Linked DNA regions of Homo sapiens: region 1 is linked to region 2. Evidence: promoter capture Hi-C in human tissues and cell types (Jung and others, 2019). All regions are on one chromosome and are shown on one strand. The core of a region is centred on a gene start or on the middle of the fragment in contact, and the rest is flanking DNA. Distances in the headings are between cores, read along the strand shown.

Region 1 (6,251 bases), core at 3,660-6,159, 770 kb after region 2:
AGGGTCTAAGGGAAGGTTATGCTGTGCACGAGCTTACGAGAATACTGCGCACGAGTATGTGGTTCTCAGAAGACTTCTGAATGCTCAGTTGTTTTCTCTGGACCCTTCTTTGATTAAAAGAAGGCGATTAAGCCCTTGTGCTGTTTTTCTTTGGCTTATTCATATTTCTCTAACTGAAAGACAAAGGTGAAGGTATCCTATTTGTCTCCTTTTCCTAGGTTTTTACTGATGCATTAAAGTAAAAATGTAACGAGGAAGTGTGTTGACAGTTGTAAGCAGCCCTTGTACCGTGATACTAATTCTGGAATTGTTTGGTCGATACTATCTTGTTTCTTCTTTTTTCTCCGTAGAGAGTGACCGAAGAACAGTGTTTATTGCCCTAACGGTGATTAGCCTTGTGGGGACAGTTCTATTCTTTCTCATTCGGAAACCAGATTCTGAAAATGTCCTAGGAGAAGATGAGTCTTCTGATGACCAGGACATGGAAGTCAACGAGTAAGATGTTGGAAACATTCTATTTTATTTTAAAATAGATTTTGAGTAGATCTAGTCTAGAGATTACCAACCCGTTTAGCCCTAACTGATGTCCAGTACTCTCTGTAGGTTACCACAGGCAAGAAAAGGAAGAAAATAAAGGAGGAGCTGCGAGGGAGGAAGAAAAAAAAGGTCACCAGAGGAAGGGAGGTGGTGAAAAGGTGCACAGGGAAGTTGAGTCTGTTCCTGGCCTTGCCACTGATGTGTGTGACCCTGGACAGTGGCAGCAATTCCTTTCATGTCTCCAGGCCTCAGCTTTCTCACTCAATCCATATGTTTCCATGGGCAAGGAAATAGAAGGCAGTGTTGACCTTGGTTACTGTTTCTGTGATCCAGCTCTAAAGCTTTCCTGTTCTTGTGGTGTGAGTGAGTGGCAGGGCCAGTGATGGTTGTCACAGATGAACCTTGGTTATCACTAGGCTCTTGCTTATGGTGTCCGGCTCTTGCACTAACTTACATAGGCGGTTTTCCCCAGAGTGGTCCAAATAGGGGAATGAGTATACAACCCTGTGTTTTGTAAAAATTGTAAATTACCTAAGCACATTTCAGTTTCAGGTGACACTATTTAAGCATGACAGGCTAGTGATCTGCAGTATCATTTAGATTTGAGGAAGGAGAGATGAGAAATTAATCTCTGCCACCCTTGTTTTGCTTTGTTTGTGATACATTGTGAAGATTGCCTTATAGCATTTTATATATTGTTAAAACTTTCGCATTGAGCATCCCATGCTGACTTTGTAATCCAGAAAGGGCCTAAAATTGTCCAGTCATAGGAGCATTAGATGCTCCAGATTTGCAGTAAGTTTGTGTAAAGCAGAAGCAAGGCAGCGCTTTGGTCTGGATATGCTGCCATGCCCTGCTTTCTTGCTCTTTATTGTGCTTCACAGACACTGGGTTTTTTACAAATTGAAGGCTTGTGGCAACCCTGCATCGAGTAAGTCTTTCTCTCCATACCACTTTTCCAACAGCGTGTGGTCACTTTGTGTCTCTCTGTCACATTTTGGTAATTCTCACAATACTTCAAACATTTCATTCTTATGACATCTGTTATAAGATGTGATCGGTAATCTTTGATGTTACTATTGCAATTGTTTTGGGGCACCACAAACCAGATCCATATAAGGTGGTGAACTTAATTGATAAATGTTGTGTGTGTTCTGACTGTTCCACTGCAGGCCATCCCCCATCTCCCTCCCTCTTCTCCTGAGACACAGCAATATTGAAATTAGGCCAGTTAATGACCCTACAATAGCCTCTATGTGTTAAAGTGAAAGGAAGACATGCATGTCTCTCACTTTATTATTTACTTATTTATTTATTTATTTATTTATTTATTTTTTGAGACGGAGTCTCGCTCTGTCACCCAAGCTGGAGTGCAGTGGCATGATCTCGGCTCACTGCAGCCTCTGCCTCAGCCTCCCAAGTAGCTGGGATTACAGGCATGCACCACCACACCCGGCTAATGACTAATCAAGAAATGACTAAGCTTAGCAAGGAAGACATGTAGAAAGCTGAGACAGGCTGAAAGCTATGCCTCTTGTGCCAAACAGCCAAGTTGTGAATGCAAAGGAAAAGTTTTTGAAGGGACTCAAAAGAGCTACTCCAGGGAACACACGAATGATAAGAAAGTGAAACAGCCTTATTGCTGATACGGAGAAAGTTTTAGTGGTCTGGATAGAAGATCAACCCAGCCACAACATTCTCTGAAGCCTAATCCAGAGCAAGTCCCTCTCTTCAATTCTGTGAAGGCTGAGAGACGTGAGGAATCTTTAGAAGAAAAATTTGAAGCTAGCAGAGGTTGGTTCGTGAGGATCAAGGAAAGAAACCATCTCCATGACATAAAAGTGCAAGGTGAAACAGCAAGTGCTGCTGGAGAAGCTGCAGCAAGTTATCCAGAAGATCTGGCCATTATAATTGACAAACGTAGCTGCACTAAACAACAGGTTTTCAATGTAGACCAAACAGTCTTACATTAAAAGATGCCATCTAGGAATTTTATAGCTAGAGAGAAGTTAATGCCGGGCTTTAAACCTTCAAAGAACAGGCCGACTCTTGTTAGGGGATAATGCAGCTAATGACTTGAAGTTGAAGCCAGTGCTCATTTACCATTCCAGAAACCCTATGACCCTTAAGAATCATGCTTAATCTACTCTGCCTGGGCTCTAGAAATGCAGTGACAAAGCCTGGATGGTAGCACATTTGTTTACGGCATGGCTTATTGACTATTTTAAGCCCACTGTTGAGACCTACTGCTCAGAAGAAAAGGTTCCTCTCAAAATATTACTGCTTATTGACAATGTACCTGATCAGCCAAGTGCTTTGTTGGAGGTGTACAAGGAGATGAATGTTGTTTTCATGCCTTCTAACAACATGTGTTCTGCAGCCCCTGGATCAAGGAGTAATTTCCATTTTTTTTTTTTTGAGACAAAGTCTTGCTCTGTCACCCAGGCTGGAGTGCAGTGGCGGGATCTCGGCTCACTGCAACCTCTGCCTCCCGGGTTCAAGAGATTCCTCCTGCCTCAGCCTCCTCAGTAACTGGCATTACAGGCGTGCACCACCATGCCTGGCTAATTTCAACTTTCAAGTCTTATTATTTAAGAAATACATTTCATGAGGATATAGCTGCCATAGATAATGATTCTTCAGATCTAAGCAAAGTAAATTGTAAACCTTTTGAGAAGGAGTCATCATTCTAGGTAGGTCACATTAAGAACATCTGTGCCTGGGGCTGGGTACAGTGGCTCACGCCTGTAATCCCAGCACTTTGGGAGGCTGAGGCAGGTGGATTGTTTGGGCTTAGGAGTTTGAGACCAGACGGGGCAACATGGTGAAACTTTTTTTTTTTTTGAGATGGAGTCTCACTTTTTCACCCAGGCTGGAGTGCAATGGCGTAGTCTTGGCTCACTGCAACCTCTGCTTCCCAGGTTCAAGTGATTCTTCCGCCTCAGCCTCCCGAGTAGCTGGGACTACAGGCACATGCCACCATACCCAGCTAATTTTTGTATTTTTAGTAGAGACGGGGCTTCACTATGTTGGGCAGGCTGGTCTCGAACTCCTGACCTCGTGATCCACCCGCCTTGGCCTCCCAAAGTGCTGGGATTACAGGCGTGAGCCACCGCGCCTGGCAAAACATTTTGTTTTAAAGCACAAACCAGTAGTTACTGGAGAAGGAGTCTGTGAAAGTGAATACCACAAATTCAATGAAAACTGACCCCCCCATTCAGCCAGCACATGTTTGGTGTTGGTCCTAGAGGACAAATGCCGCCCATCCCTGTTTTTAAGGAACTGCCAAGTTGGGGAGGTGGATGAGGGGTTCTGTAACTGTGAGCTGGCGTTCTTCTAGAAATACTGCTCAGCCTTTGTAGCATTCTCTCTTCCTGAATCGTCTCCTAAATTTGGAGCTTCTGTGTCTTTGTTCTACAAATAGCACAGACTTGTGGCAGCCCTCTTCTATGCCTGAGGGATATAGGCGTGAACAAGACAGATAAGTCCTTGTTCTTACGGGACTTAATTTTAGAGGGGGTGGTAGACAATGCACGTGTAAGAAAATAGCAAAGTGAGTGTTAGGAAGACTGTGAAAGAGGGGGAGAGTGGGGGGGAGGGGGGAGAGTGGGGTGGCTCCCTGAGACGTGGCTGGTGAGACATGAAGGTCAGCGGGTGGCCTTTGCCAAAGCCAGGCAGTGGGAAGGGCGTGGTGGGCTCTGGTCTCCAAGAAGGAAGAAGTGGAAGCAGTAGACAGGGTCAGATTATGTAAGCCAAGATAGGAGGTTTGTGTTTTCTTCTTAGTGTGATTAGAAGCTGTTGAGGGTATAAGTAGAATTCTGTTTTAAAGGTTCCCACCTAAAGGCCTCACAGAAAAAGATTTGAAGAGGTCCAAAGAGACAGCTCTGTCTGTCTTCTGGCTGGGCACAGTGGCTCCTGCCTGTAATCCCAGCACCTTGGGAGGCTGAGGCAAGAAGATCGCTTGAGCCCTGTTTGAAATCAGCCTGGGCAACATAGCAAGACCTAGTCTCTACTTAAAAAAAAAAAAAATGAGCCAGGTGTGGTGGTGCACGCCTGTAGTCCCAGCTACTTGAGAGGCCGAGGTAGGGGGAAGCTTCAGCAAAGGGATTCAAGGTTGCAGTGAGCTGTGGTCACGCCGCTGCACTCCAGCATGGGCAACAGAGCAAGACCCTGTCTTAAAAAAAAAAAATCTGTCCTCTATCTCAAGTGCGTAATTTGCATCTCTGAGGACTTATTAGCTGGGTGATCTCTGGGTGTTTCTTCATTGGCAGTTACTTCTATCCTCCTTCTCCCCTCCTCCCTGTATTCTTTCCTTCCTCTCTTCTTTCCTCCCTCTATCCTTTCACTTCTTACCTTCCTGCATTCATCCTTTCTTTCCCTTCCCTCTCTCCCACCCTCCCTTCCTCTCTCCCTTCTTTTCTTCCTTCCCCTATATTTGAGGTTCTCTGATATTCCAAGCATTGTGCTAAATAAAACAGAAGTTTGTGCATTCATGGAGCTTACTTTCTAGTTGGTGACAGAGAGAAAAGAAACAGGCAGGTTTTAAAAATAGCTTTATTGAGATATAACTCATATACTATATAATTCACCCATCTAAAGTATACACTTCAGTGCTTTTGAGTATATTCACAGAGTTGTGCGTCCATCATTGAAACCAATTTTAGAATATTTTATGAATACTTTTATTACCCCAAAAAGGAGCCACAGGATGAATGTGATGGCCCATGCTTGGCCTGTGGTTCCTTTTCCAGGTAATAAAAATCATAGCACTTTGGGAGGCCGAGACAGGCGGATTGCTTGAACCCAGGAATTTGAGATTAGCCTGAGCAACATGGCGAAACACCATCTCTACCAAAAAAAAAATACAAAAATTAATCAGGCATGGTGGCGCATGTCTGTGCTCCCAGCTACTTGAGAGACTGAGGTGGGAGAATCGCTTACGCCCAGGACGCGGAGGTTGCAGTGAGCCAAGATAATCACACCACCACACTCCAGCCTGGGTGACAGGGAGAGAGCCTGTCTCAAAAAAAAAAAGAAGAAGAAGGAACAATGTATGCTGTAGCCTATCTCCATATGGTTCTTGAAATAAAAAAATAAAGCAGGCTGGGCACGGTGACTTAAACCTGTAATTCCAGCACTTTGGGAGGCCGAGGTGGGCGGATCACGAGGTCAGGAGATCGAGACCATCCTGGCCAACATGGTGAAACTCCGTCTCTACTAAAAATACAAAAATTAGCCTGGTGTGGTGGTGTGTGCCTGTAATCCCAGCTACTCAGGAGGCTGAGGTAGGAGAATCGCTTGAACCAGGGAGTTGGAGGTGGCAGTGAGCCAAGATTGCACCGCAGCACTCCAGCCTGGGCGATAGAGTGAGACTCCTTCTCAAAAAAAAAAAAAAAAAGCAGAGAAGCAATAGAGAAATATGAGGGTGGGAGGTGGAAGGGGAGCTGTTGCAGTTACAGAGTTGGGAAGGCTGAGAAAGTAACATTTAAGTCAGGGCCTGAAAGAGGTGAGCCAGGTGTGGCTTTTACCTGGAGTGGGATGGTAAGCCATTGGAGGGTTCGAGAGAGGACTGACAGTGGTCTAACTTAAATGGTAAATAACTCACTGAATTAAATTGGAAGTGATTTGCAGCTGAATTATTGTATTTTAGTCGTCTGTAGAGTATAAATCAGTTAATTGGGGCCTGAAGGGTAAAATATTGGAATCCTACATGG
Region 2 (6,727 bases), core at 697-3,196:
TCCTGGCCTCAAGTGATCCACCTGCCTTGGCTTCCCAAAGTGCTGAGATTACAGGCATGAGCCACTGTGCCCGGCCCGAAGTCCTTATTTTTATTTATTTTTACCGTTCCTTGTGGAGCAGGGTGGATCACGAGGTGAGGAGTTTGAGACCAGCCTGGCAACATGGCGAAACCCCATCTCTACTAAAAATACAAAAATTAGCCGGGTGTGGTGGCGGGCGCCTGTAATCCCAGCTACTCAGGAGGCTGAAGCAGGAGAATCGCTTGAATCCGGGAGGTGGAGGCTGGAGTGAGCCGAGATCGTGCCACTGCACTGCAGCCTGGGCGACAGAGCGAGACTCCGTCTCAAAAAACAAAAACAAAAACAAAAAACACAACAAAACACATGGTCTGAAAAAAGGATATACTCTCTTCCACACTAGAACCAAGGCAGGTTTTTATGACGTCTCTCTCATATGCACAAGACAACCATTCAAGCACTGTCATGGATTCAGAACTACTGGGTTCTTAGACTTTCTATTCATTCAGAGGCGTCACAGATCATTCTTCATCCAGGTCCACACTACCATATAATATAATCTGCTATTGCTCCAAAATATTTAAATGGTCGTGCAACTAAAAAAAAAAATGCTCCCAGATTCAGAATTTTAGCAGTCCTCCTTACAAAGAGCAAAATGATTCTGCATTTAAATCAGTCAAATTTGAGTTGCTTGGGCAGAACAATGCTTTTACAACATCCTTGAAACTGTACTCTTGAGAACAAAAACTCCTGCATTTCCATTTATTATCAGCATTCTACAAACACGTCATCCCACGAAAAGGCTTGGATACAAAAGTGATCACATTATTTTTCACACATATAACTTTATTTATTTATTTATTTATTTATTTTTTGAGATGGAGTCTCGCACTCTTGCCCAGGCTGGAGTGCAGTGGCGCGATCTCGGCTCACTGCAAGCTCCGCCTCCCTAGTTCACGCTATTCTCCTGCCTCAGCCTCCCGAGTAGCTGGAACTACAGGCGCCCGCCACCACGCCCGGCTAATTTTTGTATTTTCAGTAGAGATGGGGTTTCACCGTGTTAGCCAGAATGGTCTCGATCTCCTGACTTGGTGATCCGCCCGCCTCGGCCTCCCAAAGTGCTGGGATTACAGGCGTGAGCCACCGCGCCCGGCCACACATATAACTTTATAAAGTTGCATGAAAATATGCCAGTTTGCATCTTCAAACACCAAGCACGGTGATGAAAGGCCACCATAGACCGCAGCTGTAAAGTTTAGGCTTAACAACACTTGCTCTGTTCTAAGGCATACCTACTTTTTAAACCACATAATTTCATCAGGGTCAGCGATGCCAAACTCCCTCATCTTCTTCACCATGATGGCACTTTTCCTGACAGCCACCTCATAACGCTGGCTGCGAGTGAGGAAGTTCAAGTCCTCATGCTGGAAGTCTGGGTCGTTCAGGATCATGTTCTCTGAAAGGGGGTTAAAGGGCATTAAAAGGCAGACAGACACTCGGGCCTCCGTTCCACCCTCCCTGAATCACAATAGGCTTCAGAGTCGCGGACACACCTGGGGAATGGCGATATCCCCCCACCAGGGACACAGGCTGTTCCTCGAAGTGGGGGTCCCGGCTCCCCTAACGCTGGGCCAGAGGGCCTAGGCCCCACAGCGCCCCTGACTCCGCATCGAGGGAGTCTCCAGCTTTTCTCGGGAAAGGAGGGAGGTCTCGCCCGCCGCCCTCACCGATCTCTCGGCGGCGCCGGGTTTTCTCGGGGCTGCCGTCCAGGATGTGTGTAAGCAGCTCCGGGTTGAAGCTGGCGGAATCCCGCTCCCTGCGCAGGTCCGGGTTCATGGCGACGACCAGCTGGCAGCGAAGTAAGCACCGACCGAGGTGGCAGTGACAATCTAAATCCGCAGCTCCAGCGCCGGCCGGACCCTAGGAGGCAGCCTCAGGACGGCGCAAGTCCCCGCCTCCGCTCGCCCGGCCCGCCCCGGCCCGCCCCTTCTTTCTCCGTGGCCCTTTGGCGCGTGAGTGACAGCGGCCCAGACAGAGGGGGCGATGTCCGCGTCGTGGCTGGGGCCGGTCGCGGGGCAGACTAATCCCCTGCTCCTGGCCAGGGGAGGCTCCCGAGCGGATCCTCGGGAAAGGGGCTCCGAAGGTCAAGAAACTGCCCTGCTGGGCGTCCGGGGAGTGGGAAAATAAAGCACTTTTTGTATCCCGCCCCTCCCCCGTCACGTGACCACGCGAGGCGGAAAGAAGAAATCCGAGGACCGGCGACGCCTAGAACAGGTTGGCTGGGGCCTTGGGAAGGGGGCGGGACAACGAGGCTGAGGAGGGATTGCGCCTGCACTTGCCCCCCTCTTACCCCGCGGCCTCTGTCACGCTTCCGGGTCCGTGCCCCTAGGCCTCTCCGAAATGAGAGTGGTCGGGAGACTCTGGAGTCTGGGGCGGGAGATGGGGCTTTGCGGAATTGCTAGGGAGGGTCACTTGGGCTTTTGCCAAATCCACCCGGATTGGAGAAGAATGGGACGGGAACCAGTCTCTTTGGGGAGAGGCTCCAGTTACCTTTTGTTAAGATAATGGCGTCTTTACTGGCAGAGGCGTGGGTTCCGGGGCCCTGGGTGTGGGATTGTGAGCGCTGTTCAAGGGGTGGACGGGGACTTAGAATGAGACCAAGCGGGCGGTGCTGCTCTAAGCCTTCTGTCTGGGAAACCAGACATTTTCCCCCGCAACCTGGCAGTTACTAGAGGTCTTGGAATCCAGACTTCTTTGCTTTCGCCATCACCGTCATCAAAGTGGGAAATGCACACTTACTGTTAAAACCTAGTGTAGGGCCGGGCGCGGTGGCTCACGCCTGGAATCCCAGCACTTTGGGAGGACGAGGCGGGCGTATCACTTGAGCCCAGGAGTTCAAGACCAGCCTGGGCAACATGGCAAAACCCCATCCCTACAAAAAATACCAAAAAATTAGCTGGGTGTAGTGGCATGCGCCTGTAGTCCCAGCTACTCTGAAGGCTGAGATGGGATGGTGGCTTGAGCCCCGGAGGTGGAGGTTGCGGTGAGCCAAGATTGTGACATTGCACTCCATCCTGGGCAACATAGTGAGACCCTGTCTCTACAGAAAAAAAACAAAAAACAAAAACAGTTCTGCCCAGTGGGATTGTAGACAAGGGAGATTCAGGGATTTGTTGAATCATCTCTAGTCATTTTTTTTTTTTTTCTTGAGACGGAGTCTCGCTCTGTCGCCCAGGCTGCAGTGTGGTGGTATGATCTCAGCTCATTGCAACCTCCACCCCCTGGGTTCAAGCGATTCTCCTATCTCAGCCTCCCGAGTAGCTGGGATTATAGGGGCTCGCCACCACACCCAGCTAATTGTATTTTTAGTAGAGACAGGATTTTGCCATGTTGGCCAGGCTGGTCTCGAATTCCTGACCTGTTGATCCACCTGCCTCGGCCTCCCAAAGCGCCGGGATTACAGGCGTGAGCCGCTGCGCCTAGCCTGTCTGTAGTCTGTGTAATACTATGACTTTGGTTTTCTCAGAAGTAAAACTACGAGAGATGCATAACATTCATAATTTGAATAATAGAACTATAATACACACTCTTAACCCCTAGGACCTCAGGATCCTCATTTGTCTTATTAAGCTGCTGATCTCAGGCCCCTTCAACAGCAGAGAGGGTGTCTAGTTTATTCTCTGTACCTGGCACAGTGCCTGCCCCGCTAAAGGTGCTCAGGAAATCTTTGTGGAGTGAACAAATGGCTGCTTGACAGCTGACCTTCTAGTTCTAATATTCTAGGAAACCAATTGCTCTTAATGTAACAATGATAAGGGGTGTACTTAGCATTGAATAGAAAAGACTTAGATGAAGAGCTAAATTTGCTGAGTTTTTATTTTGAAATAATTTCAAATTTACACGAGAATTACAAGAATAGAACAAAGAACTTTTCTTCTGTGACTTTAACGCTTTTTTTTTTTCTTTTGAGATGATGTCTTCCTCTGTCACCCAGGCTGGAGTGCAGTTGCATGATTTCAGCTCACTGCAACCTCCGCCTCCTGGGTTCAAATGATTCTCATGCCTCAGCCTCCAGAGTAGCTGGGACTACAGGAATGTACTACCACACTTGGCTAATTTTTGTGTCTTTATTAGAGGCAGGGTTTCACTATGTTGACCAGGCTGGTCTCCAACTCCTGGCCTCATGTGATCCGCTCGCCTCAGCCTTCCAAAGTGCTGAGATTACAGGCGTGAGCCACTGCGCCTGGCTGGCTGACATTAACACTTTTGAAGTGTATAAGCCCATTGTTTTGTAGTGTTGGGTCTCAGAAAACAATACCCCAAAATGAAGGCCTCAGAAGCAACCCACAAAGCAAGTTGTTTTTTTTTTTTTTTTTACCTTCTGTCCTCCTCTCCCTCAGGTGCATTCTCCCCCGAGCCTAGCCAGAGAAGTTAGAATCCTCTTCCCCAAGGCAGGTCATAGAAAACAGAGTCATTTACCCCCAAAGCCAGCCATAAAACCCTAAATATAAGCTGGGTGCGGTGGCTCACGCCTATAATCCTGGCACTTTGGGAGGCCAAGGCAGGTGGATAGCGAGGTCAGGAGATCGAGACCATCCTGGCTAACACGGTGAAACCCCGTCTCTACTAAAAATACAAAAAAAGCCGAGCGAGGTGCCATGTGCCTGTAGTCCCGGCTACTCGGGAGTCTGAGGCAGGAGAATCGCTTGAACCGGGGAGGCAGAGGTTGCAGTGAGCCGAGATTGCACCACTGCATTCCAGCCTGGGCGACAGAGTGAGACTCTGTCTCAAAAAACAAACAAAAAAAACCCTAAATATATTACTCTTAACTTTCCCTCCTTCTTTTGGTGTAAAAACTGGCCAAAAAGAAATTATCTGACCTAGCTTGTTTGACTGTAGGCCATAAGACTCCATTCCAGAGAGGGTCCTCCCCCACACCCAGAAGGAAGGAATGCCTGTTCCAAGAGGCCAAGAAGAATCTAGACAGACAGGCCTTGCTGGGCCTCCCCACTCAGTCTATCAGCATTAGATCATACCTTTTATGTTCAATCATTTGCATAAAAATGTACAATTTCCCCTGTATCTTTGGGTCTTCCTTCTGAAGGCTCCCATATGTACATGTTACATAAATTTGTACACATTTTTGACTATTACTCTGCCTTTTGTAAGTTGATTTTTTGCAGCGAAACTTCAGAGGGCCCCTTGGCACCTACAGTAGAATGTCCCTTAATTCAGATTTGTCTGATATTTCTTCATGATTAGATTCAGATGATGCATTTTTGGCAGGAATACCACACAAGTGATTAATAGGAGAAAAGGCATACACATGTATTTGATCATAGTTTTGCTTTGTTTTGTTTTGTTTGAGACAAGGCCTTGCTCTGTCACCCAGACTAGAATGCAGTGGCGCAACCATAGTTCACTGCAGCCTCAAACTCTTAGGCTCAAGCATTGATCATAGTTTTATTTATTTATTTATTTATTATTTTTTCAGGCAGAGTCTCACTCTGTCGCCCAGGCTGGAGTGCAGTGGCATGATCTCGGCTCACTGCAGCCTCCGCCTCCCGGGTTCAAGCAATTCTGCTGCCTTAGCCTTCCCTGTAGCTGGGATTACAGGCACCCGCCATCATGCCTGGCTAATTTTTGTATTTTTAGTAGAGACGGGGTGTCACCACATTGGCCAGGCTAGTCTCGAACTCCTGACCTCAAGTGATCTGCCCGCCTTGGCTCAAAAAAAAAAAAAAGAAAGAAAAAAGGAAGAGGCCCGGTGAGGTGTCTCACGCCTGTAGTCCCAACACTCTGGGAGGCCGAGGTGGGTGGATCACCTGAGGTCAGAAGTTCATGACCAGCCTGGCCAACATGGTGAAACCCCGTCTCTACTAAAAATACAAAAATTAGCCGGGCATGGTGGCACACGCCTGTATTCCCAGCTACTCAGGAGGCTGAGGCAGGAAAATCGCTTGAACCCGGGAGGCAGTGGTTACAGTGAGCCGAGATCCCGCCACTGCACTCCAGCCTGGCAGACAGAGCGAGACTCCATCTCAAAAAAGAAAGAAAGAAAGAAAGAAAAATGTATAATCATTATACCAGCAAATTCCTCCCTCGGTGAGAATTGCATAGCAACCCCAGCATCCTCCCCACCTCTTTTTCCCCAGATCCACCAGAAAAACAGGAACATCTAGTGGGGACACTCCTTTAGTCCCCTCATGTTAGTGAGCACACACTCGTGTACACTAGCCCTTCATAATTGTTATCTCCCCCTGTTTTAGACAACCAGTGTTTTCATAGCCTATGCCACCTCTATAACCACCTGATGGGTTCCCACAGCACAAACGAAATCATTTCATGGAGAGCATGGCATTACAGTCAAGAAAGACTAATTGACACAAGGCTGGCCACACCACGTGGGAGTTGGTATTATTAGTCAATCTTCTGGAAGGCTCAGAGATTAGACATTATTTAAATGTAGTTTCGGGGAAGGGGTGGTGGCAGCTAGGCAATGGGTGCTTGCTGCTGATTGGTTGGGGGTGCAACCTTAGGGGTGTGGCAAATGGTCCTCCTGCAGGCTGAGTCACCTCTGAGGGGGGCCGCAGGAGTGGTGGGTGGGGTCCATGTGGAGTTGTTGGTGTCAGACATGCAAAAAACCTGAAAAGATATCTCCAAAGGCCAATCTTAGGTTCTGCAATAGTGATGTTATCTGCAGGAGTAA

Evidence for each region. Contacts are between HindIII fragments. The study calls those that stand out against the background at their distance.
Region 1: a fragment that was not itself captured here is called in contact with the fragment with the promoter of ACOX1 in region 2 in 1 of the 25 tissues and cell types used here (dorsolateral prefrontal cortex).

Annotation. Positions count from the first base shown.
Region 1 is chr17:76,743,972-76,750,222 of GRCh38, forward strand. MFSD11 (major facilitator superfamily domain containing 11) reads left to right here. Exons shown (of 13, transcript NM_001242532.5): 7 at 351-495. Among named protein-coding and RNA genes, the nearest start is that of MFSD11, 9.0 kb to the left of the region's middle. The HindIII fragment of the contact is 3,168 bases long and covers 3,326-6,251 here.
Region 2 is chr17:75,977,220-75,983,946 of GRCh38, forward strand. ACOX1 (acyl-CoA oxidase 1) reads right to left here and starts at 1,947. Exons shown (of 14, transcript NM_004035.7): 1 at 1,746-1,947; 2 at 1,315-1,474. The coding sequence starts at 1,854. It overlaps TEN1 (TEN1 subunit of CST complex), which reads left to right and starts at 2,021. Exons shown (of 4, transcript NM_001113324.3): 1 at 2,021-2,292. It overlaps TEN1-CDK3 (TEN1-CDK3 readthrough (NMD candidate)), which reads left to right and starts at 1,998. Exons shown (of 10, transcript NR_037709.1): 1 at 1,998-2,292. RefSeq lists enhancers at 1,121-1,704, 1,610-1,839, 1,705-2,288, 2,410-2,509, 6,173-6,727 and 1 more and a silencer at 1,920-1,989. The HindIII fragment of the contact is 12,830 bases long and covers 1-3,026 here.